Linked DNA regions of Homo sapiens: all the other regions are linked to region 6. Evidence: promoter capture Hi-C in 16 types of primary human blood cells and fetal thymus (Javierre and others, 2016). All regions are on one chromosome and are shown on one strand. The core of a region is centred on a gene start or on the middle of the fragment in contact, and the rest is flanking DNA. Distances in the headings are between cores, read along the strand shown.

The links. The method cuts DNA at HindIII sites, captures the fragments that hold promoters and counts their contacts. A CHiCAGO score of 5 or more calls a contact.
Region 1: the fragment with the promoter of HS6ST1 here is called in contact with the fragment with the promoter of NIFK in region 6 in 1 of 17 cell types (total CD8 T cells); the score reaches 8.5 in total CD8 T cells.
Region 2: a contact is called between a fragment that was not itself captured here and the fragment with the promoter of NIFK in region 6, in 4 of 17 cell types (activated CD4 T cells, naive CD8 T cells, non-activated CD4 T cells and 1 more). The highest score is 12.9, in activated CD4 T cells.
Region 3: the fragment with the promoter of ERCC3 here is called in contact with the fragment with the promoter of NIFK in region 6 in 4 of 17 cell types (naive CD8 T cells, activated CD4 T cells, non-activated CD4 T cells and 1 more); the score reaches 7.6 in naive CD8 T cells.
Region 4: a contact is called between a fragment that was not itself captured here and the fragment with the promoter of NIFK in region 6, in 2 of 17 cell types (total B cells and fetal thymus). The highest score is 11.5, in total B cells.
Region 5: a contact is called between a fragment that was not itself captured here and the fragment with the promoter of NIFK in region 6, in 2 of 17 cell types (non-activated CD4 T cells and total B cells). The highest score is 17.4, in non-activated CD4 T cells.
Region 7: the fragment with the promoter of IWS1 here is called in contact with the fragment with the promoter of NIFK in region 6 in 2 of 17 cell types (non-activated CD4 T cells and naive CD8 T cells); the score reaches 8.3 in non-activated CD4 T cells.

The regions. Positions count from the first base shown.
Region 1 is chr2:128,316,817-128,321,087 of GRCh38, forward strand. It overlaps HS6ST1 (heparan sulfate 6-O-sulfotransferase 1), which reads right to left and starts at 2,052. Exons shown (of 2, transcript NM_004807.3): 1 at 1,221-2,052. The coding sequence starts at 1,747. RefSeq lists an enhancer at 1-59 and silencers at 1,061-1,290, 1,985-2,394. The HindIII fragment of the contact is 4,073 bases long and covers 1-3,570 here.
Region 2 is chr2:128,087,005-128,090,684 of GRCh38, forward strand. No RefSeq gene overlaps it. Among named protein-coding and RNA genes, the nearest start is that of UGGT1, 2.4 kb to the right of the region's middle. The HindIII fragment of the contact is 4,939 bases long and covers 1-3,680 here.
Region 3 is chr2:127,292,629-127,296,785 of GRCh38, forward strand. It overlaps ERCC3 (ERCC excision repair 3, TFIIH core complex helicase subunit), which reads right to left and starts at 1,516. Exons shown (of 15, transcript NM_000122.2): 1 at 1,426-1,516; 2 at 885-1,090; 3 at 1-218. The coding sequence starts at 1,453. The HindIII fragment of the contact is 2,323 bases long and covers 541-2,863 here.
Region 4 is chr2:131,106,232-131,109,978 of GRCh38, forward strand. The region is part of intron 1 of PLEKHB2 (pleckstrin homology domain containing B2); the gene reads left to right. Among named protein-coding and RNA genes, the nearest start is that of PLEKHB2, 2.8 kb to the left of the region's middle. The HindIII fragment of the contact is 1,206 bases long and covers 837-2,042 here.
Region 5 is chr2:130,368,438-130,372,419 of GRCh38, forward strand. It overlaps PTPN18 (protein tyrosine phosphatase non-receptor type 18), which reads left to right. Exons shown (of 15, transcript NM_014369.4): 6 at 696-764; 7 at 1,328-1,390; 8 at 1,611-1,753; 9 at 2,120-2,186; 10 at 2,268-2,345; 11 at 2,438-2,527; 12 at 2,762-2,850; 13 at 3,820-3,982. Among named protein-coding and RNA genes, the nearest start is that of PTPN18, 14 kb to the left of the region's middle. RefSeq lists an enhancer at 3,393-3,982 and a silencer at 3,747-3,982. The HindIII fragment of the contact is 1,512 bases long and covers 1,175-2,686 here.
Region 6 is chr2:121,734,342-121,738,383 of GRCh38, forward strand. It overlaps NIFK (nucleolar protein interacting with the FHA domain of MKI67), which reads right to left and starts at 2,534. Exons shown (of 7, transcript NM_032390.5): 1 at 2,405-2,534; 2 at 1,272-1,409. The coding sequence starts at 2,509. RefSeq lists an enhancer at 2,421-2,470 and a silencer at 2,571-3,020. The HindIII fragment of the contact is 3,379 bases long and covers 2,234-4,042 here.
Region 7 is chr2:127,524,612-127,528,747 of GRCh38, forward strand. IWS1 (interacts with SUPT6H, CTD assembly factor 1) reads right to left here and starts at 1,878. Exons shown (of 14, transcript NM_017969.3): 1 at 1,564-1,878. The coding sequence starts at 1,597. RefSeq lists enhancers at 1,088-1,787, 1,118-1,197, 1,208-1,267, 1,798-1,857, 2,118-2,167 and 1 more and silencers at 1,448-1,557, 2,199-2,372. The HindIII fragment of the contact is 4,097 bases long and covers 1,364-4,136 here.

The DNA of each region.
Region 1 (4,271 bases), core at 802-3,301, 6.6 Mb after region 6:
GATTGAGGTCTGTGCAGGGGAGCAGTGTCTCGGACTCTGCTCAGCTCCAGGCTGGCTGGACCTTCCAGGCTCCCCAGGCACACCTGAGAGCCTACAGCCTCTGGACCCAAGAGTGCCAGCCAACACGCCTACAACCGCCCAGCCTCCTACCACCAGCCTGTCTGCAAATTCAGTCCTAAGGCAAATTTGGAAGAGAAACAAAAGGCAGACAAGAAGCCCTGCTCCTGGCCCTTCCCAGCCCAGACTTTGGGGAGAAAGGCCCCGCAGGGCATCCCTGCAGGACGAATGGGCACCAACAGGAACAGGAGGAAAATAACCCCAACTTTAACTGCTGGAAACCCAGCAGCACCCCAGGTTCCCCTACAAACGGCTTCCCAGAAGAGCTGCCCCGGCACCCCTCCCATGCTCTGTGTCCTCACGCAGCTCAGCTCTGACATGGGGCTGGGGGACCCCAGAGAAGGGGTGTGGCAGCACAGGTTCCCTGGACCAGCTCAACTACCCCCAACCTGGCTGGTAGCTTCCTGGGGAAGGTGGTCCCCCATCGGGTGGCTTTTGTTCCTCTCTCCAGGCAAGCCTGTGCCTGGAAGAATTCGGCTGGCAGGCCCCACTGGGAGGACAGGCGGTACTGCCTCCTCCCCGCCCCCAGCCCCAGGTCAACAGGGCCTTTGTTCTACCTGCACACACCGGCAGGCAGGCGGGCAGAGCCAGCCCCCTTCCCTGGCAGCTCCCCCACCCTCTGAAGGCAGGCACTCCAGGCACAGGGGCGGCACCTCACTACTCTCACTTCCACTTTTGGGACCACAGCACCGAAGCGGCACGGGGAAGCCAACACTCCAGGTAGGCCACGCACACACCCAGAAGCCCGCGTCCCCAAGTCCGGCGGGCCAGACCTCACGGCGCACAGCAGGTAAGGTGGCCCGAGGGCAGCGGGCGGGGACCCTGGAGAAAACCCGGGCGCTGCGCAGTCAAGCCGGCAGTAGGGCAGCACAAGGCAAGGAAGAGAGTGAGAGCGAGGTCAGAAAGCGCGGTGACAGCCGGCTCACCCAGAGGAGCTGGGAGCCTCGGGCGCTCGGCAGGTCGGGAGGGGTGCCGGCGAGTGGGGGCCCCCAAGAGGGCAGAAGGGGGTAGGGAAGGCAGGGCCGACCCAGTACAGCACGGCGGGCATACGGCCCGGCCTCGGGGGCGCAGCTGCGCGAGGATCCCGCCGCCCGGGCGCTCACCTGGGCGTGCGCAGCGCGGCGGAGTCGCGGCGGTCCAGCACGCCGGGCACGCAGTTGGTGAGCTCGGTCCAGTCGGCGTGCAGCCCGCAGCTCCAGCCGGTGGAGAAGCGGGAGAAGAGCCAAGTCTCGCGGCGGTTGGGCCGGTAGCAGGTGCACTTCTTCTGGCCGGGCCGGCAGTCGCACGGCACCTCGAGGCGTACGTTCTGCACGAGGTGGCGGCCGAAGGTGGTGCCGCCCGTCTTCTGGATGTGCAGGAAGACGATCACGTCGTCGCCCTTCATGTCGAAGCGCAGCGAGCGCTCCAGCTCGCGGACCGGGAAGTAGTACTTCTTCTCGTAGTGGGGGTCGGGTGTGGGGAACAGGTCCAGGTCGTCGGGCGGCGCGCGGCCGCCGGGCGCGCCCAGGCTCAGTCCTGGGCCCGCGTACTGGTACAAGATGAGCATGAAGCACACCGAGCCCGCCACCACCAGCACGAACTTGCTGGCGCGCTCAACCATGGTCCTGCCGCCGGCGCGCCGCCGCCGCATGTGTCACCATCGCCGGGGCCCGGGCGCGGGGCGCGGGGCCTGGGAGGGCAGGAGGCGCGGGCGCAGCTGCCTCCGCCGCCGCCCGCGCTCCGGCCCGGCCCGGCTACTCGGCGCCCAGGCCGCCCGCAGCGGCGCGGGCCCCGACCCTCCGCGGTGCCATGGCTGCTCCCCGCCCGGCCCCGGCTCCCCGGGCCCGACGCCCGACTCCGCTCCCGCTCGGCCCCGCTCCCGGCCCCGGCCAGCACAGCGCTCTCCGCGCCCCCAGCACCAGCCCGCTCCGCTCCACTCCGCGCCGAGAACGCTCTGCGCCGCCCCGCGCGCCGCCGCGTCTCCGCAGTCCGCCGCCGCCGCCCCGCCCCGGTCCGCCCCTGGCCCGCCCCCGTGGCGTCTCTTGCCGTCGCCGCCCGCGCCGATCCTCGGCCCCGCCTCCGGAGTGCCGGGGTTCGCCGCGGGTGCTGGGCGCGGGACCTGGGTCTGCTGCGGTGGCGAGGCCGCTAGCAGGCGGGCAGCCAGCGACTGGGAAGTGATTCCGCCCTCAGGGGAGTGGGGGACCAACCGGCAGTGCGGAGCCGAGGCGTGGGAGGCTCTCCTGGCGGGGGCCGCGGTGAGGGGGCGCGGCGGCTGGCGCTTCTGGAGCCTGGGTCCGTACCCCCTCCTCCCCAAGTCCCAGCCGCCCACGTCCCCGCAGCCCGCGCGGGAGGAAAGGCCTTGACCTTGCACGCTGGGGCGCTGAAGTTAGACGCTAGCCTACTGGGCTGCACTTCCAGGGACCAGGGCGGCGGGGGCCGCCCACCACCAGGACCGAGAGGGAAAGCGAGGCTTTCCTTTCCTGCTCGACCCCCTCACCCCTGCGGCTGGCTTTGGGACAGTGCCCCGCAGCCCCGCATTGAAGAGATGTTGGGCTGTCTGCAGAGGCCTGCGGAGCGGCTTTATGGCTTCCTCCTTGTTTGAAAAGAATATCAGACGAGGTGCATTTTCCCCCATCCATGTTTATTATACTCCAATGAAAGAGTTATAAAACATTGAGCCAATTCTTAAGAATCGTGAGTGCCCACCAAATATTCTGTCTTTCGTGGGTTGGTTGGAGAGTCCAGCGGCCCGGGCCCAACCTGGCTGCGGAGGGCTCGCTCCACGTTGGCTCGTGTGTGGGCCGGGTGGTGCGGGCTCCTCACTCGCCGCCGCCCAGCCTGGCAAGCACGCGCGGCATTCGTGGGGCGGGGGGTCCCGCCAGGTGCCCACTCACACTGCTTGGGCTCTGGCAGTACTCGGAGGCTGCAGCCCGTCGGAAGCGCAGGAGTGGGGCTGGGACCTGCCAGGATCTCACAGCTGCAGGGCCGGCCGCGGTGGGCCCTAGTGTGTTGGTTCAGGCCAGCGAGGGCTCTGGGAGCGAGTCTGGCTGCCAGGCGTGGGCTCCCAGTGTCCACGTCAAGCCCTGCCGGGGACGGGGTGGGGGGGGAGGCGGGGTGGTGCCCTGCCTTCCGTTCTGTTAGGGACCGGAAGCGATCATGGGGTGTCAATTATGCCTCAGTAAAGCTGTTAAACGTAGACAACATCACACCAGAAAGCCCTCCTGGAAGCAAACCCAGAGAGCTGGAAAAACCAACACCCCAAACCCAGCTGAGCGGGCGGCATGCATTTTCCAAAGGGACCGCAAGAATATCCGCTGTGGACAGGCGGGTGCAGAACCCTCAACACAGCCCAGCGCACCCTGGAGTCCATGGTGTGGGGTCCTCAGTGGGACCTAGGGCCCCAAAGCCCCTGCTCATCTTGTAGGCTGCTTTAAAACTGTCCCTGGCCCGAGGGTCCTGGGGGCAGCTTGGACAAGCTTCTCCAGAAGTGACTCATTCCTATAGGAGTGGGGGTGCAGTCCCCATGGGACACAGGTGGGGCCGCCCTGCAGTGTGCTTGGACCTGCCTGCAGCCCCTTGACGCAGTCTGTGCCTGAGCCCTGGGGAGCCTTCCTGTGTGGCCTAGGGGAGCACAGCTGCCCCGGGTCCACCCCCCAGATGTCCTTACCCAGATAAGGATCCTCGTGCTACATCATAATTAAGGCTGCTCTTTTGGAGACCTGCTGGGTGCCAGGCATTGTAGAGGTGTCATTTCCAATTCCATCAGCAAATCTGCGGGGGTAGGCTGTGATATCCATTTACAGAAGAGAAAACTGAGGTTCAAAGGGGTTAAGACCCTGGTTCCAAGGTCAACCACTCTCACCCCATGAGAGTCAGCAGAGCTGGGATCCTGATTCCTGCTGTGAGCCCCAGAACCCTCCCCTTCCCCACCTCTGCACTTGCCCCAGCTCCCTAGGCCAGGGATGAGAGCGTCTACAGGGGCCACTCCTGAGAGCCTGGTGACCGTCACTGCCACCAAGGGGGAACGTGGGCCCAGAGTGTTCAAGGGAAAGCTGGAGCAGCTCCGAAGGCCAACGAAGCCATCGGTACTTGGGCCATGGCTCCACCCTGTGATGATCTCACTGTCCCAAGGGGGAAACTGAGGCCCAGGCAGGGACGAAGTGCCTGTGATAAGG
Region 2 (3,680 bases), core at 176-2,675, 6.4 Mb after region 6:
TACAAGCTATACACAGGGAGAAAATGTTTCCAAATGGCATATCTGACAAATAACTTGTATCTAAAATATATAAAGTACCCTCAAAACTCAATGGTGGAAAACCAAATAATTAGAGAATAAGCTAGGGCATGACAAGGCATTCCACAAAAGGATACACAGATTGCAAATGACCATGTGAAAATATGCTCATCATCACCAGCCACTAGGGAAATGCAAATTGAAACCATGATGAGGAATTACTATGTGCCTATCAAAATAACAAAAATAAAAAAATAATGGCAGTACCAATTGTGGGTAAGAATGCAGAGAAAATGGATCTCTCATACACTGGTGGTGGGAATGTAAAATGGTACAGCCATTCTAGAAAATAGTTTGGCCTTTCCTTACAAGCAAAATGTACATTTACCATATGATCAAGTAATTGCACTCTTGGGCATTCATCCCAGATAAAAAAAAACTTAGGTCTAGGCCAGACATGGTGGCTCATGCCTGTAATCCCAACACTTTGGGAGGCTGAAGCAGGTGGATCACTTGAGGTCAGGGGTTTGAAAACAGCCTAGCCAACATGGCAAAACCCCATCTCTACTAAAAATAAAAAAATTACCCGGGTGTGGTGGCACACACTTGTAATTCCAGGTACTCAGGAGGCTGAGGCAGGAGAATTGCTTGAATCCAGAAGCAGAGGTTGCAGTGAGCCAGATCACACTACTGCACTCCAGCCTGGGTGACAGAGTGAGCGACACTCCTTCCCAACAAAAACAAACAAAAAACTTGTGTCTATGTAAAAAACCTTTACATAGGGCTGGGCGTGGTGGCTCATGACTGTAATCCCAGGACTTTGGGAGACCAAGTGGGGAGGATTGCTTGAGCCCAAGATTTTGAGACCAGCCTGGGTAACATGGTGAGACCTGATCTATTAAATAAATAAATAAATAAATAAATAATTTTTTTTTATTTGAGACAGAGTCTTGCTCCTCACCCAGGCTGGAGTGGAGTGGCGCAATCTCTACTCACTGCAACCTCTGCTTCCTGGGTGCAAGCAATTCTCCTGCCTCAGCCTCCCAAGTAGCTGGGATTACAGGCGCCCACCACCATGCCTGGCTGATTTTTGTAATTTTAAATAAATAAATAAATAAATATAAATACAAACCTGTACATGAATGTTAATAGGAGCTTTATTTGTAATAGTCCAGAACTGGAAAAAACCCAAATATCCTTCAATAGGTGATGCTAAAATGAATCTGTATGTTTGTACCATGGAATATTACTCAGTAATAAAAAGGAACAAACTACTGATATCTACAACTTGTATGGCTCCACAGGTGGTTATGCTGAGTGAATAAATAAATAAAAAAGCTACATACTATGTGATACTATTCATATAACATTCTAGAATTGAAAAATTTTATATTTAATGATCAAAATGATGGTTGCCACAGGCTAGGGGTTTTGGGGGTAGGAAAGTAGTTCTGACTTCATAAAGGGGTAGCACAAGGGAGATCTTTGTGGTGCTGCAATAGTTGTGGGTCTTCATTTTGGCAGTGGTTACACAAATGTACAGACATACACAAAATGATGGAAATATACCTGTCTCCCCCACACAATGTACCAAGTCAATTTCTGGTTTTCATACTTTAATATAGATATTTGAAATGTAATCATTGGGGGAATGGGCTTAAGGGTACAAAGTACCTCTGTGTACTATCTTTGCAACTTCTTGTGAATTTATAATTATTTCTAAATAAAAAGTTTAAAAAATTTTTTAAAATCTGTTTTTATTCAAATAAGGTAGCACTTTTCAGAGAAAGGTTTAGAAAAGGTGAAATCCAACTTTCCTAGAAGCTCTGTGCTACCACTTAGCTGTATTTTAAAACTAAGCAAACTTTGGTTTTGTTCATGGATCACATAGCAGAAGATCAAGATAAGGCCAAGAAAAAGTATATAATCAACTTTGTAATGAGGTGAATTAACAATTTCCTTTTTATTGAAGCATTAGCTGATGTGATTTAAAGAGGGCTAGAAAATACACTATGGAAAGCTAACACAACAGCTCCCTTGTGAAATAAATTTTAAAATGCTCATGTTTTTTTCTTTTCGTAGGTGTGTGTACACATTTAGTTTTATTGTAACAAAGCAACTTGTACACTTTTAACATTTAAAACTGAGCATGATCTTTCCTTTCCAGTGAAACAAAATTTAAAAATAAACAGGAACAAAATTACAATAGAGAATGTCAATTCCAAATAAGATCCTAGAGGTTCTGCTGATTCTCCCACTGAGTGGCAGGGCTCAAGTCATCATTAGGAGAGAATTTATTTTAAAAGCGTCATCTTAAACTGCAAGGATGTGTGTCAAACATCGCAATTAAACATGCCAAAGGAGAAGCCATGTTGTCAAAATGTCCGCTTAACCCACCCAAACATCTCAGACCCACCCTTTGCTGACTTCTAGAATCCCATTTTTTAAAGTTTTTTTCTTTTTTTAAACAAGAGAAAGTAGACAGAAAGATGTTGGTAAATGCTAACTGTCCATATTCACATAGAGACCCAGTGTACTCTCCGAGCCCAATATACAGAGAAAGCAGGAAGAAAGCTAGAATTGAATGCTCTGCTACACATGGGCCTAGAGCCCTCCAGCTTCCAGCAGGGCGAAGGGAGCAGGTTTTTCTTTTTTCCCACAGAGCTGGGGTGATGTTGATTCTATACAGTTTTTGCTCAGACAGGAAGGGATAAAAATGAATTTCGAACAGAAAGGGGTAGAGACTCTTTTCCCATTGTATTCTGCTGAAGTTATTTCCCCCAAAATAAGTTGAGAACTATAGTGTAGAGAAAAGAAACCTCAAGAACAGGGCGACTGAGCACAAGAGAGAAAAAACAAAAAACAAAAAAACAAAAAAACTGCAACTTGCTCCCAGGGACTGGAGAAAATGTAAAAAAAGGAAGGTTGGAATCCATCAGTGTTTTTTTGCTGTTGTTGTTGCTGTTTTTTTTTTTTTTGAGATGGAGTCTCCCTCTCTCGCCCAGGCTGGAGTGCAGTGATGCGATCTCTGCTCACTGCAAGCAACCTCCGCCTCCCGGGTTCACGCCATTCTCCTGCCTCAGCCTCCATCCTCAGCGTGAGCCACCGCGCCCGGCCTCCATCAGTGTTCCATTAGTCATCTCCTTCATCCTCCTCTCCTTCCTCCCCTTCATCATGTTGGCTCATGTTTATTTATTAAAATTATTTTGGGCCGGGCGCAGTGGGTCACGCCTGTAATCCCAGCACTTGGGAGGCCGAGGCGGGTGGATCATCTGAGGTCAGCAGTTCGAGACCAGCCTGGCCAACAGGGTGAAACCCTGTCTCTACTAAAAATACAAAAATTAGCCAGGCGCGGTGGCGCACGCCTGTAATCCCAGCTACTGGGGAGGCTGAGGTGGGAGAATCGCTTGAATGCGGGTCGGGGGGTTGGGGGGTGGGGGGCGCGGGCGGGGGCGCGGAGGTTGCAGTGAGCCGAGATCGCGCCACTGCATTCCAGCCTGGGAGACAGAGCGAGACTCCAACTCCAAAAAAATATTTTTGGCTTTTCATTCACTTTGACTTAATATACTTAAAAATATACCCTCCAAAGAGGTATTCATTTTTGGGTGGGTTAAATGCTACCTATTCCAAAACAATTTTAAACTGGTTTATATTAGTTAAAA
Region 3 (4,157 bases), core at 266-2,765, 5.6 Mb after region 6:
CCATCAGGGACTCCAGTCTTGCTGAGCTTCCTGAGGTACTCGGTGATGTCACTGGTTTGCAGCCCAACGCTGACAGCTGCATACAAGGAGTAGGCAGTTAGTTTGTACTCATGCACATGGGTTGGTCGGCACACTGGCTCTGCAATAGCCACCAAGAAGTCTTGGGCATATTTGTAAACTGGAGAGAAGGCTTCCAAGAAGATATGGCCATCGGGAGCCTGAGAGATACCAAATGGACAAAACAGACAAGGAAACATGAGTTGCAGAGACTACTGGGCTCTTGCCCATATCATTATCAAGAAAGAATAAGCTGCCCAACACCACAGATATTCTTGCAAGCACTCCTTCAGACAACTGTGGGGCCTGTTACATTAATCAGATACAGAAGAGTAAAGAAAAATAGAAGAAAGTGTTTCCAAAGTCAACAGCTGTTTCCTACTATTCTGCACAGAGAAAGCCCATCTTACTGGCTATCCTCAAGTTACCTTTTGGCTAGATTTCAACTAAATGTATAACATTAATTATTTAAAGTAGAGCAAAAGCTTGCTACCGAACATGTCTTCCATTATTTGAGGAAACAAACTGTTACATGATAAATGCTATTTATTCGGCAGATAAAAGGATTCACTACATGGGGTAGGGCTGGGGAAGGAGTGAGAGTAAACCGAGGGGTTAGAGCTGTTGGAAGCCCAGGTCCGGCCGCCACACGTGTGCGCAACTGCTCGCTGTTGCCTTGGGCTGTTCCAACGTGTGTGGATGAAAATTCTCTCCCGGCCAGTTCTAGGGGCAGTATCCTGAATGTCAGTTTTGACTCTGAGGATGCCCAAGATTTAGCTGCCGCTCCGCACACTCCTGGGCCCTGCCCAAGCTAAGGGCATGCTTACCACCCAGAGGGGCCTGGAGGTGTGGTCGTCCTTCAGCGGCATTTGCAGCCTGTAGTCCTTGGCTCCATATTCATCCACTTTGGTGCCTGACTCATCCACCTGCTTCCCCGCCGCCGAGGGAACCGCTTCCTGAGGGTCGTTCCCCGGGGCGTCCTCTTCATCATCCTCTTCATCCTCATAGTGCCGCTTCCTGGATTTCTTCTTGTCTGCAAGATACCAACACAGAAGTAAGCCCAGCAGGAGCCTTCAGGGTTCCCTCCGCACCGCTTGGCAGCATTTCACCTGCGCCGCCGCAAACTCCTAGCTAAGAGCCACCTGCATCCCGCAGGCGTTGCGCCCCTCACCCGTCTCCCCTAGGCCGAGTTCGCTGGGCTGCGCCCAGGTCCAGCATCTCTCCCGCCCAAAGGCCTGTCCCAACGGGGTGCGCGCGGGAGGGCCAGCAGGGTCGGCCGGCGCAGAGGCCCGGAGCAGCTCCGAGGCAGAGCGGGGGGCAGGGCCGGCAAGGGCAGTCGTGGCTGAGCGTGCCCGCGCAACGTCTCACCGCGGTCCGCTCGGTCTCTTTTGCCCATGGCAGCTACAGCAGCAGAGAGAAGATGACCCCGCTCCCACAGGCCCGCCGCGGCATCCGCTCTGGGGGGACTTCCGGCTCAATCCGGAAGCTCCCTGTTGTCCACACAGGATGTCCCGCCTCTAGGCGCCGTGATGTGGGTGGCTGGAAGAGCGGAGAGCCAGCGACCGCCGATCTGTTAGCTCGTGCGACCCAGCGGCGGGGGTCCTCCACTGTTCATTTCTCTACAACTGAAGGAAAATACTGTGTGTTGAGCACCTGTGTAGTGCGCGAATTAAAGGCCTCATCCTTCTGGAACTTAAATTTTAATGAAGCCATGTGGGCAATAAATGTGTGTGTGAGAGAGAGAGAGAGAGAATGTGACCTGAGTCCATGGGTAAGGAAGAATTCTTTTTTTTAATTAAAAAAAATTTGGCTGAGCACGGTGGCTCACGCCTGTAATTCCAGCACTTTGGGAGGCTGAGGTGGGTGGATCACTTGAGGTCAGGAGTTCGAGGCCAGCCTGGCCAACATGGTGAAACCCCATCTCTGCGAAAAATACAAAAAAAAGTAGCCAGGCATGGTGGCACACGCCTGTAGTCTAAGCTACTTGGGAGGCTGAGATGGGAGAATCTCTTGAACCCAGAAGGTAAAGGCTGCACTGAGCTGAGATTGCACCACTGCACTACAGCCTGGGCGACAGGCCGAGAGTTCGTCTCAAAAAAAATTTTTTTCTTTTTTTTTTTTTTTTTTTTGAGACGGAGTCTCGCCCTGTCGCCCAGGCTGGAATGCAGTGGCGCGATTTCAGCTCACTGCAAGCTCCGCCTCCCGGGTTCATGCCATTCTCATGTCTCAGCCTAAATAAAGCAGATTACCCTCAATAATGCGGGTGGGCCTCATCCAAATCAGTTGAAGGCCTTAAGAGCAAAGACAGGTTTCTCAAGGAAAAAGGAATTCTGCCTCCAGACTGCAACACAGAAAGTTCTGACTGAGTTTCCAGCCTTTGGACTCAAAACTACAACATCAACTCGTACCTGAATTCCCAACTTGCCAACCCCCACAATTGCATGAGCCAATTCTTTAAAATCAATCAATCAATCTCGCTTGCTCAGTGGGCCTCTTGGTTCTGTTTCTCTGGAGAACGTAACACAGATTTTTGGTACGGGGAATAGGGTACTGCTGTAACAAATACCTAACAATGGGGAAGTGGTTTTCAAATTGGGTAATCGGTAGAGGCTGAAAGAATTTTGAGGCGCATGATAGAAAAGCCTCTATTGTCTTGAAGAGCCTTGGTAGAAGTATGGGCATTAAAGGTGATTCTGGTGACGGCTCAGATGGAAAGGAGAAATATGTTATTGAAACTGGAGGCAAGTGGTAGAGAGCTTGCCTGAATTGTATTCTGTTGGGTGGAAAGTAGAACTTATAAGTGATAAGCTTGGACATTTTGCTGAGGAAATTTCTACATGATGGTTCAAAGTGAGGCCTGGGCCAGGCGCGGTGGCTCACGCCTGTAATCCCAGCACTTTGGGAGGCCGAGGCAGGGGATCATAAGGTCAGGAGTTCAATACCAGCCTGGCCAATATGGTGAATCCCCGTCTCTACTAAAAATACAAAAATTAGCTGGGCGTGGTGTCGCGCGCCTGTAGTCTCAGCTGCTCAGGAGGCTGAGGCAGGAGGATCTCTTGAACTCAGGAGGCAGAAGTTGCAGTGAGCAGAGATCACGCCACTGCACTCCAGCCTGGGCAACAGAGCAAGACTCCGTCTCAAAAAAAAAAAAAAAAAAAACTGAGGCCTGCTTTCTCCTTATTGCTTATAGTGAAATGTGAGAAGAGATACACTGAAGGTGGAATTATTCAACAAAAAGGAACCAGAACTTGAAGATTTGGATCATTCTTATACTCACATTGTAAAAAAAAAAAAAAAAAAAAAAAAAAAAAAAAAAAAGAGAGAGAGAAAGTATGCTCTGGAGAAACACTAAGGATGTGGACAACCATTTATTTGCAAGAGATTAGGTGTGTGGCTTATAGACCCAATCACCCATCTCCACAGAAACCTGGACAGTTTTGACTAGGGTACATAGATGGGATGAAATGAAGGAAGGCTGTTGGACTCCCAGGATTCCACAGGTAGGAAAGGGATTGGCAGGGGCAGTTCAGAGGCCAGTGAGGCTGCTTCCGCCACCACAGGACTGAAAGGGACAGGCTTGGGTTTGAACCCACGGCCACCACCTCCTCAGTTCTGAGGGTGCGGGGCTGCAACCCCAGTGGGCCCTGAGGACAGAGGATCAAGCCAGTGAGGATTATTCTCAAGCCTTAAAATCCTGTCATTGGCCCTGTTAGGTGTCAGACTTTCTTGGCACCTCCAAGTCTTTTTCCTTCCCATTTCTCCCTTTTGGAATGGAATGTGTCTATCCTCTGCCTATACCATTGTAATTGGAAGCAGATAACTTGTCTGTTCTCATGGGTTCATAGATAGAAAGAAAATTTGCTCCAACAGGAAACCTAACCCAGAGTCAATTGATGTGGATGATTTGGGTGATGAGATTTGAACTGATATTTAGATGATACTGGACTTTGAGTTGATGCTAGAATGACTGACTTTTGTTGATGTTGAGATGGGGTGAATGTACTTTGCATGTGGGAAGGATATGAACTTGTAGGGGCCAGAGGACAGACTATGGGTTGAATTGTGTCCCCCACCCCTCAAAAAGTTATTTTTTTTGAGAC
Region 4 (3,747 bases), core at 190-2,689, 9.4 Mb after region 6:
AAAGGAACATGGTTAATTCAAAATAATACTGACTCATGGTCTCAGCCTTTAAATTTTTAGTGCTTAGGAAAGGGTGGAACCACCACCGAGGGAGGAGGGCTGACAGCTGAGGGGAGGAATATTCCAAGGTCTTCTGTGGCCTTTGGTATGAACCAGTACCAATTCAGGAAGTGACTTGTCCGAAGTCACATGAGGAATTAGGACCCGAGCTGGCACTGGTAACTGCCTGTTTAGTGTGGCCCTCAGTATTTGTTGACTAAACTAATGACCAAAACATGTATGCACAGACACAGCTGTGCGTCTGTGCCCATGCAGTGGGTGTGTCTGCCTAAGGACCTGTGGGGGTGTGGGAATACTGCTGTGACGGTTCAATTGTGGTGCTCAGGAGTGTTCCCTAGGTTCAGAAAGTTCCTAACCCTGGGCTGGTTGGCTGGATATTGATAGGACTGGAGCTTGTCTGGGCTTCCTTTGTGCCTGGTGTTTACTCTCTGTGGTGGTGATCTCTTTACTCGACTCTTCCCTATTCGTACTGATCTCCCTGAGGACAGGAATCAAACTGTGTTGCAGGGTTTCCCTAATAAACAGCATAGTGTTTGGCACTTTGTAGGTGGTCAGTAAATGCTTATTGAAGAAGGCTGCAGAAAAGAACTCAGAACCTGACAGCGGTTCTTTGCTAGCATTATATTTTAAAGGCGGTGGTACATTCTGTAAGTAAATTTCCTGCTATTCTCAAGGACTGAGTTGATTAAATGTGTACAGCAGTGGTATAGAGAGGACAGATACTCTTGTGGTGTTACTCCTTGGGAAGGTGGAGGTTTCTCTCAGCTCTTTCTGAAAGCTTTGCTTATGCTTTTCAGCTTGCATTAATATTTTTGTTTCTCCTTTCCTCTGCCTGCCTTCTTACTGTTTGTCTAAAGAAATTAAAGAATTACCTTATTAATAACAGTAACTACCAAAAACTGCAAAACACACTGTTAAAAATGCTCCCAAAGTGGGGGCTAATTGACCCAGTTGTTTTGTTAGTTATATATTTGCTTCCACAGTGGATCATGGAAACGGAAAGTTGGACTTCCTTGCCTCTTTGCTTTCTTTGCCTGTCTGCCCTTTGATGGTGCTTGTATTAGGCTTGTTGTTAAGAAGTGGTTCCCAACTGGAAATGGCCAATGCCACGTGGGAACTGACCTCTACATGTTGATGGGTCACCCAACCTTCTTTCCCTTCTGTTTCAGAATGTACCTGTGACATCTCTTTGACTCTCCACTGTTGCCCTTGAAGAACAGAGATGAGTTTTCTTCCTTTTTCATAAGGAAGCCACTTTTATAGCGAAAGAGAGCTGGAGAACTGGGATATCATGAGGAGTTGTAGACAGTTAAACCTGAATTCTAGCTTTTGGAACAAAATAGTAATGTAATTGTAGCAGTTCTCACTTTTTTATTTTTTATTTTTTTGAGACGGAGTTTCACTCCTGTTGCTTAGGCTGGAGTGCGATGGCGCAGTCTCGGCTCACTGCAACCTCCGCTTCCCGGGTTCAAGGGAGTCCCCTGCCTCTGCCCCCCAAATAGCTGGGATTACAGGCGTGCGCCACCATGCTCGGCTAATTTTTTGTATTTTTAATAGAGATGGGGTTTCACTATGTTGGTCAGGCTGGTCTCGAACTCCTGACCTCAGGTGATCCGCCTGCCTTGGCCTCCCAAAGTGTTGGGATTATAGGCGTGAGCCAACGCGCCTGGCCAATTCTCACTTTTGGACCATCTACTACAGGGCTGTTTGGACATACCTCCTTTAATTGTCACAGTAACCCCATGACGTAATTGGTTGTGCCTGGTCATACAGGTAAGAAAACTGAGGCTTAGAGAGGTTTAGAATTTTGCTGAAGGTCATACTAGTGAGTAGAAGGCAAAGTAGGCTTCAGGCTTAGAACTGTCAGATTCCAAAGGCAGTATTTTTTGTCCATCTGTTGTCTGTTTCGATTCAATGCTTTCAAAGAGATACAAATTCAAATTTAAAATAATTTAAATTGTTGAATATGGCTTACATTTTAAAGCTTTGCATAGGTTTTATTGGCATAAAAATAATGTTCTTTTGCAGCTAGTTTGCTGGTGTTTTATTCTCTAGAGACCAACAGCTAGGGCTTAGTGTTTATCTGATGAGTTTTAGTTTATGCATTCAGTTTTGCTCCAGGATATAAATAGTGAAATGTTGAATTAAGTTATGGAGTGGTGTGAAATTCAGCATGCTAAGGCAATCAAACAGAAGTCTTCTGAGCCATTTGAGAAGCAGCTTGATGTCCTTGTTCTTAGAACAGGGCTGTCCAATCTTTAGACTTTCTTGGGCCACATTGGAAGAAGGCCATACATAAAATACACTAACCCTAATGATAGCTGATGCACTAAAAAATAAAATTGCAAAAAAATCTCATAACGTTTTAAGAAAGTTTACAAATTTGTGTTGGGCTGCATTCAAAGCTGACCTGGGCTGGGGCCATGAGTTGGACAAGCTTGTTCTAGAATATTTTCGGCAAATTTTGGTAAGGGGGAAAATAAGTAATAGTAATAATAGTAGTAAATAGTAATAATTGCTGTCAAAGCAGCTACCATTTATCGAGTTCTAGTAACTGTGAGGCACCATGCCAACTACTTACATATTATTTCACCCAATTTTCCGAACATCCTGTCAAGTAGGTGGTGGGAATTTTCGTTTTATAGATCAGGCTTGGAAACGTGACTTGTCCGATTGAGTCAGGATCTGAACATAGGTCTTTTAACTCTAAAGCTTATACCCAAACACTGGGTTCTGTGAAATTTCAAAAGCATATGATAGGCTGACTGCAGTGGCTCATACCTGTAATCCCAGAACTTTGGGAGGCTGAGATGGAAGAATCCCTTGAGCCCAGGAGTTCGAGACCAGCTTGGGCAACATAGTGAAACCTCGTCTCTACAAAAACAAAACAAAATGTGATCAAAATCATACTTCATGATTTTTGGTTTCTAAAGATACTCTCTAAATTTCTCTCCCCAATTTAAAAACGAAAGCAGAGCACTGTTGGAAGGTTCAAATAGGTAGATTAATTTAGGTTGGTTTTTTTGTTTTGGTATAGTTGAAGATAATTCAGGTTATTGTTTACATGTTTACATTTATCAAAATAATACATGTACATAGATTGAAAGACCAAATAGGCTGAGCGTGGTGGCTCAAGCTTTTGGAGGCCAGCACTTTTGGAGGCTGAGGCGGGTGGATCCCCTGAGGTCAGGAGTTTGAGACCAGCCTGACCAACGTGGTAAAATCCCGTCTGTACTAAAAGTACAAAAATCAGCTGTGCGTGGTGGTGGGCGCCTGTAATCCCAGCTACTTGGGAGGCTGAGGCAGGAGAATCGCTTGAACCTGGAAGGCGATGGGTGCAGTGAGCCAAGATCGCGCCACTATACTCCAGCCTGGGCAACAAGAGCGAAACTCTGTCTCAAAACAAACAAACAAAAAAAACAACCAAATAGTGCTTTAAACCTTAGAATAAAAAAAAATATATCAATCTCTTGTCCACCCCCTTTTTAAACTATAGACAACTATTTTCACCTTTTTTTGGCACTTTTTAAAATAGTATTTTGGCTGGGTGTGGTGGCTCACACCTGTAATTCCAGCACTTTGGGATGCCAAGGCAAGTGGATCATGAGGTCAGGAGATCGAGACCATCCTGGCTGACACGGTGAAACCCTGTCTCTACTAAAAATACAAAAAAATTACCTGGGTGTG
Region 5 (3,982 bases), core at 681-3,180, 8.6 Mb after region 6:
CTAAATGCCCCTTATAGTTGATAATGCCTCTACACTCTAGCTAGAGGGAATGTGAATTCTTTCTCATCATGAGCTCAAGGAAATGTTCATCCTACAGATCCCTACTATTCTTTCATGGTAAGTTATTCTTGCCTGGCCTCATGGGGTTTCATGTTGTATATATTCAGATTATTCAACCAAAGAATCAAGGAGGGGACTTCTATGCAAGTTATTGTTTTGTTTTTATTTGCATACCTCTGTTCCTTCCAGGACTCTGCCCTGCAAATTCTAGCTGCTTTTGCCTCCTTGAGCCATGGTCTCTGGCTCAACTCAGTGGGATCATTAGACTCATGTCTTACAGCCTGGTGACACTTCCATGCAATAAGCCGGAGTGGTCTGTTCAGTGACCACAGTACTGCAACACCTGCCAACCAGTGTCTGAAAATAGTGGCTCATGTATTTTGTCCAGTTTCTAGTTGCTTACAGTGGGAGGGTATCCTGGACTGTATTTCCCCTGCATGGTCAGCAGCGCACCTCCATTGAGTCTGCATGTGTTTAATCTGATGGCTCTGTTGGCTGGCGTCTGTTATAGGTTATAAGTATAGCTGCCTGTGCTTCCACCACGAGCACCTGGGGTGTCTTGTGGCATGATTGAGCTAGCTCTGAAGCTGACTCCCTCTTCTCACTCCCTGCCTTTTCTCCCTTACCTTTTGCAGAAAAGGTGTGAGCGGTACTGGGCCCAGGAGCAGGAGCCACTGCAGACTGGGCTTTTCTGCATCACTCTGGTGAGCTGTGGGAGTTTTCAAGGAAGATTCCCAGGGTGGAAAGGCTTTGGGTTGGGCCTAAAAGGTTGAATGATTTAACCCACAGTCCACTCATACTGCAGGAAACCCTCTGGTGTTAGCCTGCAAATAGTTAGAACTTACTATAGGGATAGCCTTTGCATTTTTATTTTGGCTACAATCAGTTAATCTCTGTCATGTAAATGTGCCTGGTTAGGTTGTTGAAATTCTTACTTCTCTTACCATTTCAAAAGAGCTTGGGGAACTCTCTCAAGTCATACATACAGTTAGTACTTAATAAATGCAATAAAAGTTTCATTTTAGAACAAAAGACATCTCTTTTCATTGCAAAAGGGCTTGTGTTTTTATAATAGTTCCTCTTTTGCTCCTGTGTCAAATGTTTCCTTAATGAAAGCTTTGGGGAAAGTTTGGGCTATATGAATTTTTAAAATGTTTTCTGTATTTGATTTTTTAATCAGGAATGCTTTGCTTTCTATAAATGTCTTCTGGTACCTATGATCTTTGTTCTCCTCCCTCTTCTTACTTGCCCCACCCCCCTTACTCAGATAAAGGAGAAGTGGCTGAATGAGGACATCATGCTCAGGACCCTCAAGGTCACATTCCAGAAGGTACTGTGACAGGGGAGGAGGAGGTAAAGGGGCTCCTGAAAGGGGAGAGGTTTCCTCTCCTGTAAAAATGGGCATCATACTAGTACCCACTTCCTCAGTTATTGTCTGGTAGACATAAATGGAAGATGCCTAGAAGTGGGCCTGGTGTATAGTAGATGGCCAATTAATGCTTTTTTCTTTTTTTTCCTAAGTCTTTTGCTCATCTTTTTCTGTGTTTCAGGAGTCCCGTTCTGTGTACCAGCTACAGTATATGTCCTGGCCAGACCGTGGGGTCCCCAGCAGTCCTGACCACATGCTCGCCATGGTGGAGGAAGCCCGTCGCCTCCAGGGATCTGGCCCTGAACCCCTCTGTGTCCACTGCAGGTTTTGGAAATGGGCTTCAGGAGGGTCTGGTGAGGCAGAGGGGACAGAGCATGGAGGGGAGTACAGGGCATGGGGCTAGTCTTGTAGTCTGAGTGCCTATTTTGAGAACCCTTGCTCACCCTCCATGGACTGTAATTGTGAGCACTTGTTCAGCACAGACTCAGCTGGGGAATAAGCACACAGCTCTTGCTCAACAAAATGTAAGTGATTAAAAAGGTTTTCCTTGTTCAGATATAATCTGAAGATTCTGGGAATCAAGAGGCTCTGCAGGGGATCCATCAGGACCCTCACCCCCATCCCCAAATGCCCCATCTAAAAGGGGTTGTGGTCAGGACCTGACCAGGCACACTCTGATTCTCTTGTCAGTGCGGGTTGTGGGCGAACAGGCGTCCTGTGCACCGTGGATTATGTGAGGCAGCTGCTCCTGACCCAGGTACGATACAGGCATCCTGTGTGTGCAGTGTGCTGCCCATGACCACGTGTCCTGCTCAAGTGCCTTGTCTGTCTGCCCCAGATGATCCCACCTGACTTCAGTCTCTTTGATGTGGTCCTTAAGATGAGGAAGCAGCGGCCTGCGGCCGTGCAGACAGAGGTGAACCCTGGGTCTCCTAATCTTCAGGGACAGTGGCCCACTGCTGTCATTTGCCCCTGCCTTCCCTTCTTGATGGTCCCTCACCCCAACAGGAGCAGTACAGGTTCCTGTACCACACGGTGGCTCAGATGTTCTGCTCCACACTCCAGAATGCCAGCCCCCACTACCAGAACATCAAAGAGGTACAGAGGCTCCTTTCCCACTCTCCTGTCCACCATCAGCACCCTCAGAGACCAGGACCCCGAGCAGGGTCCAGCCCCCGGGACTACTGGGAGCAGGCACTGACTATGACATCCACCTGTGCCCTCCTCCAGGCATCCTTATCAGGCTCTCCCATCTTAAGCTTTCTCCCAGAGCCCCTTGAGAGGCCTGGCCAGCTTCCTCCCTCAGGAGCCTCCCCTCCTGTTTTTCTTCAGAATTGTGCCCCACTCTACGACGATGCCCTCTTCCTCCGGACTCCCCAGGCACTTCTCGCCATACCCCGCCCACCAGGAGGGGTCCTCAGGTACCCGGCTCCATCCCCGGATTCTTCCCTGCCCAATTTCTCAGGCTAACCCCTTCTTCATCCTTGGAACACCAGTCCGTTCCTTGTTCACTTCGCCAAGTGTTCGCTGGCCCTTTCTTCGAATTGAGCTCTGGGAACCCACCCCAAGATGATTCAATTATCCCAAGATGATTCATTTACCCCTTGCCTCTGCCTCTAAGGCTTGCCCTGCCTTCTGAGTTAGGCCTTTCCTGGATCCTCTAATCAAACCTTAATTCAGGTGGCTCACCCCTGTAATCCCAGCACTTCGGGAGGCCAAGGAGGGCGGATCACTTGAGCCCAGCTGGAGACCAGCCTGGTTAACATGGTGAAACCCTGTCTCTACTAAAAATACAAAAATTAGCCAGGCGTGCTGGTGAGAGCCTGTAATCCCAGCTACTCCGGAGGCTGAGGCAGGAGAGTCGCTTGAGCCCGGGAGGTGGAGGTTGCAGTAAGCCGAGATCGCACCACGGCAGTCCAGCCTGGGCGACAGAGCGAGATCCTGTCTCAAAAAAACAACAAAAAAAATTCAGCAAATAATTCTAGACGCCGCCTTCTTGTCAGGCCGCACGTTGGGTGCTGCGGACATGGGATTGAGCCGCCTTCGCAGCGGAGACTTAAGGCCCTTGTCCTTGCGGCCATCCCTTCCTGTCTTCTATGCCACTTCCGCATTCTTTTGTTCAGTAGACGTTGACACAGAAATGACCACCCCTCAAACCAACACTCTGCCCCAAATTACCCTCCAGGCTGACCCCGTTCCTCCTTCATCCCCCTAACTTGCAGGGCGCTAGGGACACAGAAGCGAGGCCTCCAACCCAAGGAGCCCTCCCTCCCATCTAGCGCACCGCCTCGGCGGGAAGGAAGCCCGTGGTTTGCGCGCTGAGCAGCCTCCCCACTCCCGCCCTGCCCAGCGCCGCCGTTTCACTTCCTCCCGGCCCTCCCTGCCTGCAGGAGCATCTCTGTGCCCGGGTCCCCGGGCCACGCCATGGCTGACACCTACGCGGTGGTGCAGAAGCGCGGGGCTCCAGCGGGCGCCGGGAGTGGGACGCAGACGGGGACGGGGACGGGGACGGGGGCGCGCAGCGCGGAGGAGGCGCCGCTCTACAGCAAGGTG
Region 6 (4,042 bases), core at 1,284-3,783:
GTTACATGGATAAAGCTCAGATTATTGAATACAAAAATTCAGCTGAAGAATGATAGAGTAATATAATTTTAAAATAATACCATATGTACATTTATATATGTACACATATGTATTCTAGTACATATATATATAGTAAAAACTTATATATAGCAATGAAAACTGAATTTGTGGCCGGGCGCACTGGCTCACGCCTGTAATCTCAGCACTTTGGGAGGCCGAGGCGGGAGGATCACAAGGTCAGGAGTTCGAGACCAGCCTGGCCAACATAGTGAAACCCCGTCTCTAGTAAAACACACAAAAAATTAGCCAGGCATGGTGGCAGGCGCCTGTAATCCCAGCTACTTGGGAAGGTGACGCAAGGAGAATTGCTTGAACCCGGGAAGCGGAGGTTGCAGTGAGCTGAGATTGTACCACTGCACTCCAGCCCGGGCGACAGTGCAAGCCTCAGTCTCAAAAAAAAGAAAACTGAATTTGTGAATTTAATTCCCTAATTAAAGAAGTTGAAGAGCACTGGGAAGGGTACAAAAGGGACCTCAATTCTACCTACAATCTATCTTTACGACAACTAACAGATGATGGATGTGCACCCTATCCCCCACATGCTAAATCAAATAGGTGTCTATGGCTACAACCAATTAAAGTTTATGTGCGGGGAAAGAAAAGAAAGTGGGTCACTCCTCCACTATTGAAACAAGCTATGTAAAGCGTTTTCTCATTAGAAGGCAGGTATGACACAAATAGTAATTATACTTATATAGTGTTTATTGTGTACCAAGCAATCCTCTAAAGACTTTATATTTAACCTTTGACTAAATACTCCCAGGAAGTTTTACTTATATTTAACAGATCACAACACTGAAACATGGTAAGGTCATATCACTCTAACTAGTAAGGTGTAGAGCCTGACCCCAAACCTCAGCAGTCCAACTCCAGAGTCCTCACCTTTAACTATTCACTATATAAACCTTTGCTATTATAAGGATGCTTGTACCAAAGGCTAACACAAGAAAATGTATAAACCTGGGCCTCATACTAAAGCTCATTTACCAGGACTGTCAATTTAATGTAAGGATTTGGAGAAATGTAAAAAACAAACTTTTACAATAATACTGATTTTGCTCCTGTAGCTGTTTCAGATTCTAAACCTCCTCCACTCTCCTTTTTGGAATGAAATCTGATAAGCAATAATGTATGCGTGAACGTGCTCTTTAATGTCAAGGATAATACACATTTGAAAAACAAAACATTAAATCCAACTGCAAAAATCTTACCCTTTTACTTCTGGACAGCCTGAACCGTGTCACAGTGCCAAACTGGGAGAAATATGAAAAGATCTGGGTTTCGTCAAGTAGGTTAGGTAGGTGGCGCACATAGACTACTCCAGGAGTAAGTTGTTCTTGTTTTTTTCGCTAAAGACGTAAAGACCAGGTAAATTAAATATATAAATAAGAAAATCACATTGTAACAAAACCCCTAGCCCTCGGCCCAAGAACCTATTCTGCATTTCCACTTACCACAGTAGTAATTAAAGAACTGGCTGTTTAGTGTTTCTCTCCCCACAAAGGCCATGGTCAAGCAGTAGTCAACTATCTTTCCAGCCTGGCATCCCAGCACCCAGTATAATATTAGAGCTCAATAACTATGTCAATCAACGGATAAGCAAGGACATCTTTGAACAAGCCATTTTAGATCTTCTGCCCAGAGAACTCTACATAAACGTAGGCTTCAATTTGGTATGCATATTACTGTTTACTCGCACTTCATCGAAAAATTTTCGATACGCTTGTTAACTCTCACGGTACAGATTAGCCTTTCAACGTCTCAGTCATCATAGCCTTACCTCTGTAACAGGAACTTCTAAGTTTTCCTGTGTATTTTATGCTAAAAACCACAGAAAGTATAAGCGATGTCAGGGGCCCTAGTCAGCAAGTGGAACCTGGCAAATACTCTATTTTAATAACTCCCAGATCACCAACCCGGCATACAAACTTCCCGAATGTGTTAAGTCTGGGGCTCCCATTTTTGGGGGAAACGCGGAAGCGTGACAGCTCTAACCCGGAGATAACCTGTGGTATAGGAGCCTATTCCCTCCAGCTGGTTCTTTCTACTGCTTCTGTCACCCCAATACTTCCCCGTTACCCTCCACATGAAGGCTCCAGGGCCTCAGCGGCCAAACCCCTCCATCATTTACCGAACAGCGTAAACCCTTTCGTCTCGGAAACCGTGGCCTGCAAGCTTAAGAGGTCGGTCCCTGATTCGGTCGAATCCACTTGGGAGACCCTGGAGGTAATGAAGGCGAGCACGAAGGCAAGGGGCGCCCGGGCCGGAAACCGTGCAACCCCAGATACCCTCTAGACCCGGTCCATCGCCCCCGCTCGCAGCCTGGGCCAGGGTGCCTGCTCACCTGGGTTATGCGCTTGCGAACCTGCGCCACCTCCTTTTGAAACTCGACATCTTCCTGCGGATTAAGCGACAGGATTGGCCCAGCCGGGCCAGAAAAAGTCGCCATGCCAAAAGCCGCCGACGCTAACCACGCGGCGCTCCCGGAAACGTCGGGCTCCCAGCTCCCCCGAGGCGGAAGTAGAGGCAGGACAGGGGCGGGGCGAAGCGCTAAGGCGAGGCGAGGCGTGGCGAGGGGCGGGGAGGGCCATGAGTCGGGCGCGGGGTTGGAGCAGGAGTTGCCCGGAGAAGCGGGGGCGGGGCACGGGGTGTGGCGAGGCGCGGGGCGGGGCATAAATTGCGCCAGGGGCGAGGGCGGGGCACGAGGTCGTGCCGAGAGACTGGGAGAGGCGTGAGTCGCGCGGAGGCGCGACATGGGGCGTGACGAGGAGCGGAGGGCGGGGCGTGAGTAGCGCCGAGGCGCGGAGGCGGGGCGCAGGGGCGTGCCGAGGCGCGGCAGCGGGGTCTGGGGCTGGGGCTGGGCCGTGGGGAGCTCCCGCACCCTCGGCTGTCGGGGCGCCGGCTGGCTTCGCTTAAGAGTGCCTGAAACAATTACGTTCACGCCTACTTTCAAAAAAGGTCTAAAATAAATTCCAAAACAGTACCTGTGTCCTTGAGATGCTGCTCTCATTCCTCAATTTGCTTATTATTATTATTATTTTTTTTTGAGACAGAGTTTCGCTTTGGTTGCCCAGGCTGGAGTGCAATGGCGCAATCTCGGCTCACTGCAACTTCCAACTTCCGCCTCCCGGGTTCAAGCGATTCTCCTGCCTCAGTCTTCCGAGTAGCTGATTACAGGCGCCCGCCACCACTCCCAGCTTAATTTGTACGTTACCACTCCCAGCTTAATTTGTATGTTTAGTAGAAACGGGGTTTCACCATGTTGGCCAGGCTGGTCTCGAACTCCTGACCTCAGGTGATCCACCCGCCTCAGCCTCCCAAAGTACTGGGATAACAGGCGTGAGCCACCGCGCCCGGCCCTAATTTGGTTATTCTTTCACTCACTTGTGTGTGAGCTCTCCTGTGTGGCCCCGTCCGTCCGCGGCCCTTGGAGAACTTACAGCCTGAGGGCAGCATGGCTGCTTTAAGAGACCAAAGAGGCTTGTGGGGGAGAGGCACACTGGGTGGCGCCGGAGGGTCCCCCTTAGGAGGTGGCGTTAGCACCGAGGCCTGAAGGCTAAAGAGCGGGGTGTGGAGAACCGAGCGCCTGCCGTCCGCTGGACCGGACAGGCCTGCACAGTGTTCCTAGGTCTAGAAAGAAGGACGCGGCAGTGGGGTTGGAGCCCAGCACAGGAGGGAAGAGCTGCGAGGCGGCAGGCTGGAGCCCCATGACTGTGTGTCAAAGTATGAAACTGGGGTTTTGTAAATGCGAGGGGATGGGCGGGTTTAAAGCGAGGCTGTGGCTGTTTGCATCTTTCTTTTCTTTTTTTTTTTTTGAGACGGAGTCTCGTTCTGTCGTCCAGGCTGGAGTGCAGTGGCGCGATTTTGGCTCACTCACTGCAACCTCCGCCTCCTGGGTTCAAGCAATTCTCCTTCCTCAGCCTCCCGACTAGCTGGGACTACAGGTGCACACCACTACTCCCGGCTAATTTTTGTATTTTTA
Region 7 (4,136 bases), core at 628-3,127, 5.8 Mb after region 6:
CACTGCAACCTCCACCCCCCCGGGTTCAACAAGTGATTCTCCTGCCTCAGCCTCCTGAGTAGCTGGGATTACAGGTGCCCGCCACCACGCCTGGCTAATTTTTTGTATTTTTAGTAGAGATGGGCTTCACCACGTTGGCCAGGCTGGTCTCAAACTCCTGACCTCAGGTGTTTGCCACCGTGCTCGGTCTACTTTTTAAAAAGTAACTTAAAAACACAAATGAATGGAAAAAAAACTATTCTGAAAGTATCAGGAAAGTGTTTTTTTGTTTTTGTTTTTGTTTTTGTTTTTTTTGAGACAGAGTCTTGCTCTGTCGCCCAGGCTTGGAGTGCAGTGGTGCAACTTCCGCTCACTGCAACCTCTGCCTCCCGGGCTCAGGGCTCAAAGGATCCTCCCACTTCAGCCTCCTGAGTAACTGGGACTACAGGTGTATGCCACCACACTCGGCTAATTTTTGCATTTTTTTGTAGAGACGAAGTAGGGGGGTGGGGTAGGGGCGTAGGGGGGTGGGGTACGGGCATGGGGGGTGGGGGTGGTGTTGGTCTCACTATGTTGCCCAGGCTGGTCTCGAACTCCTGGGCTCAAGCCATCGGCCGCCTACGCCTCCCAAAGTGCTGGGATTACAGGCATAATCCACCGCACCTGGCTTAGGAAAGTGTTTTTAAGCAGTGCATGCCTGGAAAACGCTTTGCAGTCATTAGAATTCACTGTCCTACGTAAGGAAAAGCAATGAACTCAAAACAGTAAAGGGCTTAACGCTTAAACAATTATTTAAGCACTCAAGTTTTCTTTTTAATTTTCAATTTTTGTGGGTACATAGAGGGTGTATTTATTTATGGTGTATTTAAGAACTTTTGTAACAGAACGCCCCAACAGGACTAGCACACAAAGGGAAAGCAAATGCGACGTGTTTCCCACACCAGGTTCTGCCTCACTTATCCTTAATCTCAGGTGCCAAGCACCGTGCCAGCAGAGTGGGCCCCAGTAACAGCTTACAGAATAAACAAACAGTAAAGAAAGGAGACCAAACTTCGGTGAGGAGGAAGAGGAACGATCTCAAGGTGGAGGAAAGGCACAAAAACCACCAGTAAGTGCCAGAAGCGCATTCCTTACTCTATGCATGCAACTGAAACATGGGTCCTGCACTTACGTCCGGTGTTGCAAGCAAGATTAAACCACTCCTAACTAGCAGTGAAAAGTCTAGGAAGGATCCCCCGCCCCAACGCCCCTTGGATTCTCCAACTACTCAACTACTGAAAACTCTCTTAACAGAAGACACCTCTCCTTCCCTGCACACAATAGGAGCTTAACATATGAAAGTGACTTCCCAATTTCAGCAAAAACCTTCGCCGATTCAGAAGAAAGCTTTCCCACCAGAATCCCCTCTCCAACGTTCTAGCTTCGACGCTTGCAGCTGGTCAGAGGGCTCTTGCCCTCCTCGGGCCGGGTCGCGGGAGGGAAGGTTTCGGGGGGCCTCCTTGCCCCCACCCGCGGGGTGCCAGGCCAAGCCCCGCCGAGTAACTGCTCCGCCTCCCAGCCCGGTCCCCCAGGTCCCTGCCCCACCTGACTGGTCGCCGCTGTAATATTCCGAGTCCATGGCAGGCGGACTCTCAGCGGGGAGTGTCCGCGCCCCGCGCCGCCCCCGTCACCTCCTTCCAGGCGGTGTGACCCCGGATGGCGCGGCTAAGTGTTCAGAGACTGCCGCCCGACCGGAGAACTTAACGGGTGCGGAGGGTAAGAAAGCGGTAGCGGCAAAGGCGAATTCTTTGACCTGGAAGCCCCGGCGGAAAAGGCCGTACCCGGCAGGCTGGCGGGCGGGCAGGCATGCGAGCCGGCGTTCTACTTCCTAGAAGCACCGCTGGGGCCAAAATGGCGTCTGCCCACGACCCTCAAAGGAATGCAGCGCGCAGGCGCCGCAACCCGTCAACCGGCCAATGAGAAGACGCAACAGCAATGACGCCAGGCACGGCCGGAAAGGAGACTCCTGGGAAAATTGAGCTGGAACTCGGGCTTTAGTTAAATACCTTCCTCGGGTGGATCCTGGTCTGACCCCCGTGGTAATAACGTTATCATTGATTCTTTATCATTTCCTAGATTCTGTGTCCGTGCCTTGTTTGAAGAGCTTTTGAGATACTCTTCCGAAAAATGAAGACCTGCTCAAATGACTTTTCCGTCATTCAGCCAAACCACTGTCTTTCCCGTCAGGCCCAGAGGCGCCTGGTTCCCGCCCGCAGTAGGCAAGAAAGCGGGCGTTGCTCACTGGGACTTGTAGTATGACGCCCGCGAGCTGTGATGCGTTACTAACTGGCGCGATCCACAGCGCCTCCTCTCCCGGCGTCTTCCTCTCTTTCATTCTAAACAACGATTTAATTTCCTTGTTAAGAAGCCATTTAGCCAACAGTAAGAAGTACACGTCTTTGCTTCCAGAAGGGTTCCCCTGATGAAACACCGGAGGAAGGTGAAGTTGAACTTTACCTGAGCCCTGTGTTCCTGGAAAACAGCGGTGATTAAGAAACCCCCTCATCTATTTGTGTTTCTGGAACGGCACACTGTAAAGAACCACCCGTCTCCATGTGACTCAGATAAAACGCGTGCAGATGACCCCCTTGTTTGCCTGTGACAAGGCCAGAGACCTTTCCCCTTTATTCTGAGCCTGTTAATAAAGCCAAACAGACCTTCCAAATTCCCGCTGATGATATCGAGTGATTAGTTGAGATTAGAACTCTCCTCCCCCCAACTTGTTAGACACAGAGAACATTTCCTGTTCACCTGACTGAAACTTCTCCTGATTGCAAAACAATCCCAACTGTCAATCATCCCACCTTCCTCCCTATAAAAGTCAAAACTACGCTGCCAAGACACTGATCATATCTGGAGTGCTCTCCCTATTGCAATAGGCTGAGTAAAATCCATTTCCTTACTTGTTCATTTTAGTCTTGGACAGAGAGGGGAACATTCTTGCCTTTGGATCGGAGGAGGGCCAGTAGAGGTTTAAGCAAAGACTCCCCAGGAGGTGTAGACATGTAGAAAAAGAGCCTTTTGTTACTACTGCAGATATCTGACCCTTCGTTAGCCAGTCAGAGTATGCTGGCAGAGCCCAATTATAGGCTCCTGAAGAGGACGTGGGAAGAGAAGAAAGGGGAGAAGTGGTTTCTCTCTGGAAATTCCCATTTTCCTGCAAGAGAGTTCATGGATATTCCTTTCCGAAGTGGTGGAAACAGCATTGAATCCAAATTCCTTCTTTTCAGCTGTGGGAATGACATCTTCTCAGGCAGTCTTGAGAATCAAAAGAACAAAGAATTAGCAATGCCCGAAACCGAATCACTTGATAGAAGATATCAAGGCTCTAAGCCCTCTTCTAAAGAGAAGGTGAGAGTACACCTGTGTAAATGGAGCAGGATTAATAGATCAAAATTCCAGGCGGAGGTTCAGTGGAAGAGAACCTTTTAGTTTCACCAGAGATGTAAGTCCAACAGTCAGGAAAGTGGTTGGGTTATAAACAATGCAATTGCCGGATGAAAATTACTGAATTTTAGCGTTAAAACTAACTGTACTGGTGGTTTGGAGAAAGGATAGAAACACTCTGGACACACAACAATGTTCTTAGCTCTAGAAGCCTGCAAAGAAGCATCAGATCTAATTTTTGTACTCAGAAAGCCAACAATTTAGTGAGACAGGACAAGTCTTTCAAATGAATACAGAGCCTTAGTTAAAGCAGTGTGGTTGTCAGTGTAAACACAGCTTACGGAGAGTTCCCAGAGCTCCTTCCTACCAGCTGGCTGTCCCTCCTGGATCCTGGTAGAGAAATTCTGTAGTGGCACAGATGTGTCTTTCTGAGTCTTGGCTGCCTTACATTTTCAGGACTGCCATCTCCTTACCCATCACACCCCACCCCAGTACAGTTGGCCCATGGCGGTGGTAGGGAGGCACCCAGAAGATAGGCTGTTTCCCACACCAAGGGTGCTAATGACAGAAGAATGGAGAGGCAAACTTGCAGCAGTCCACAATGCTTCCTCCCTTAACAGATAACCCAGAGACGCTGCATTCCCTAAGTGAATGTAAGATTTATTTGGAGACACTCTGAAGACACTGCCATCTGCTGAACATGTCAGGGAGCAAGAGGCCGCATAATATAA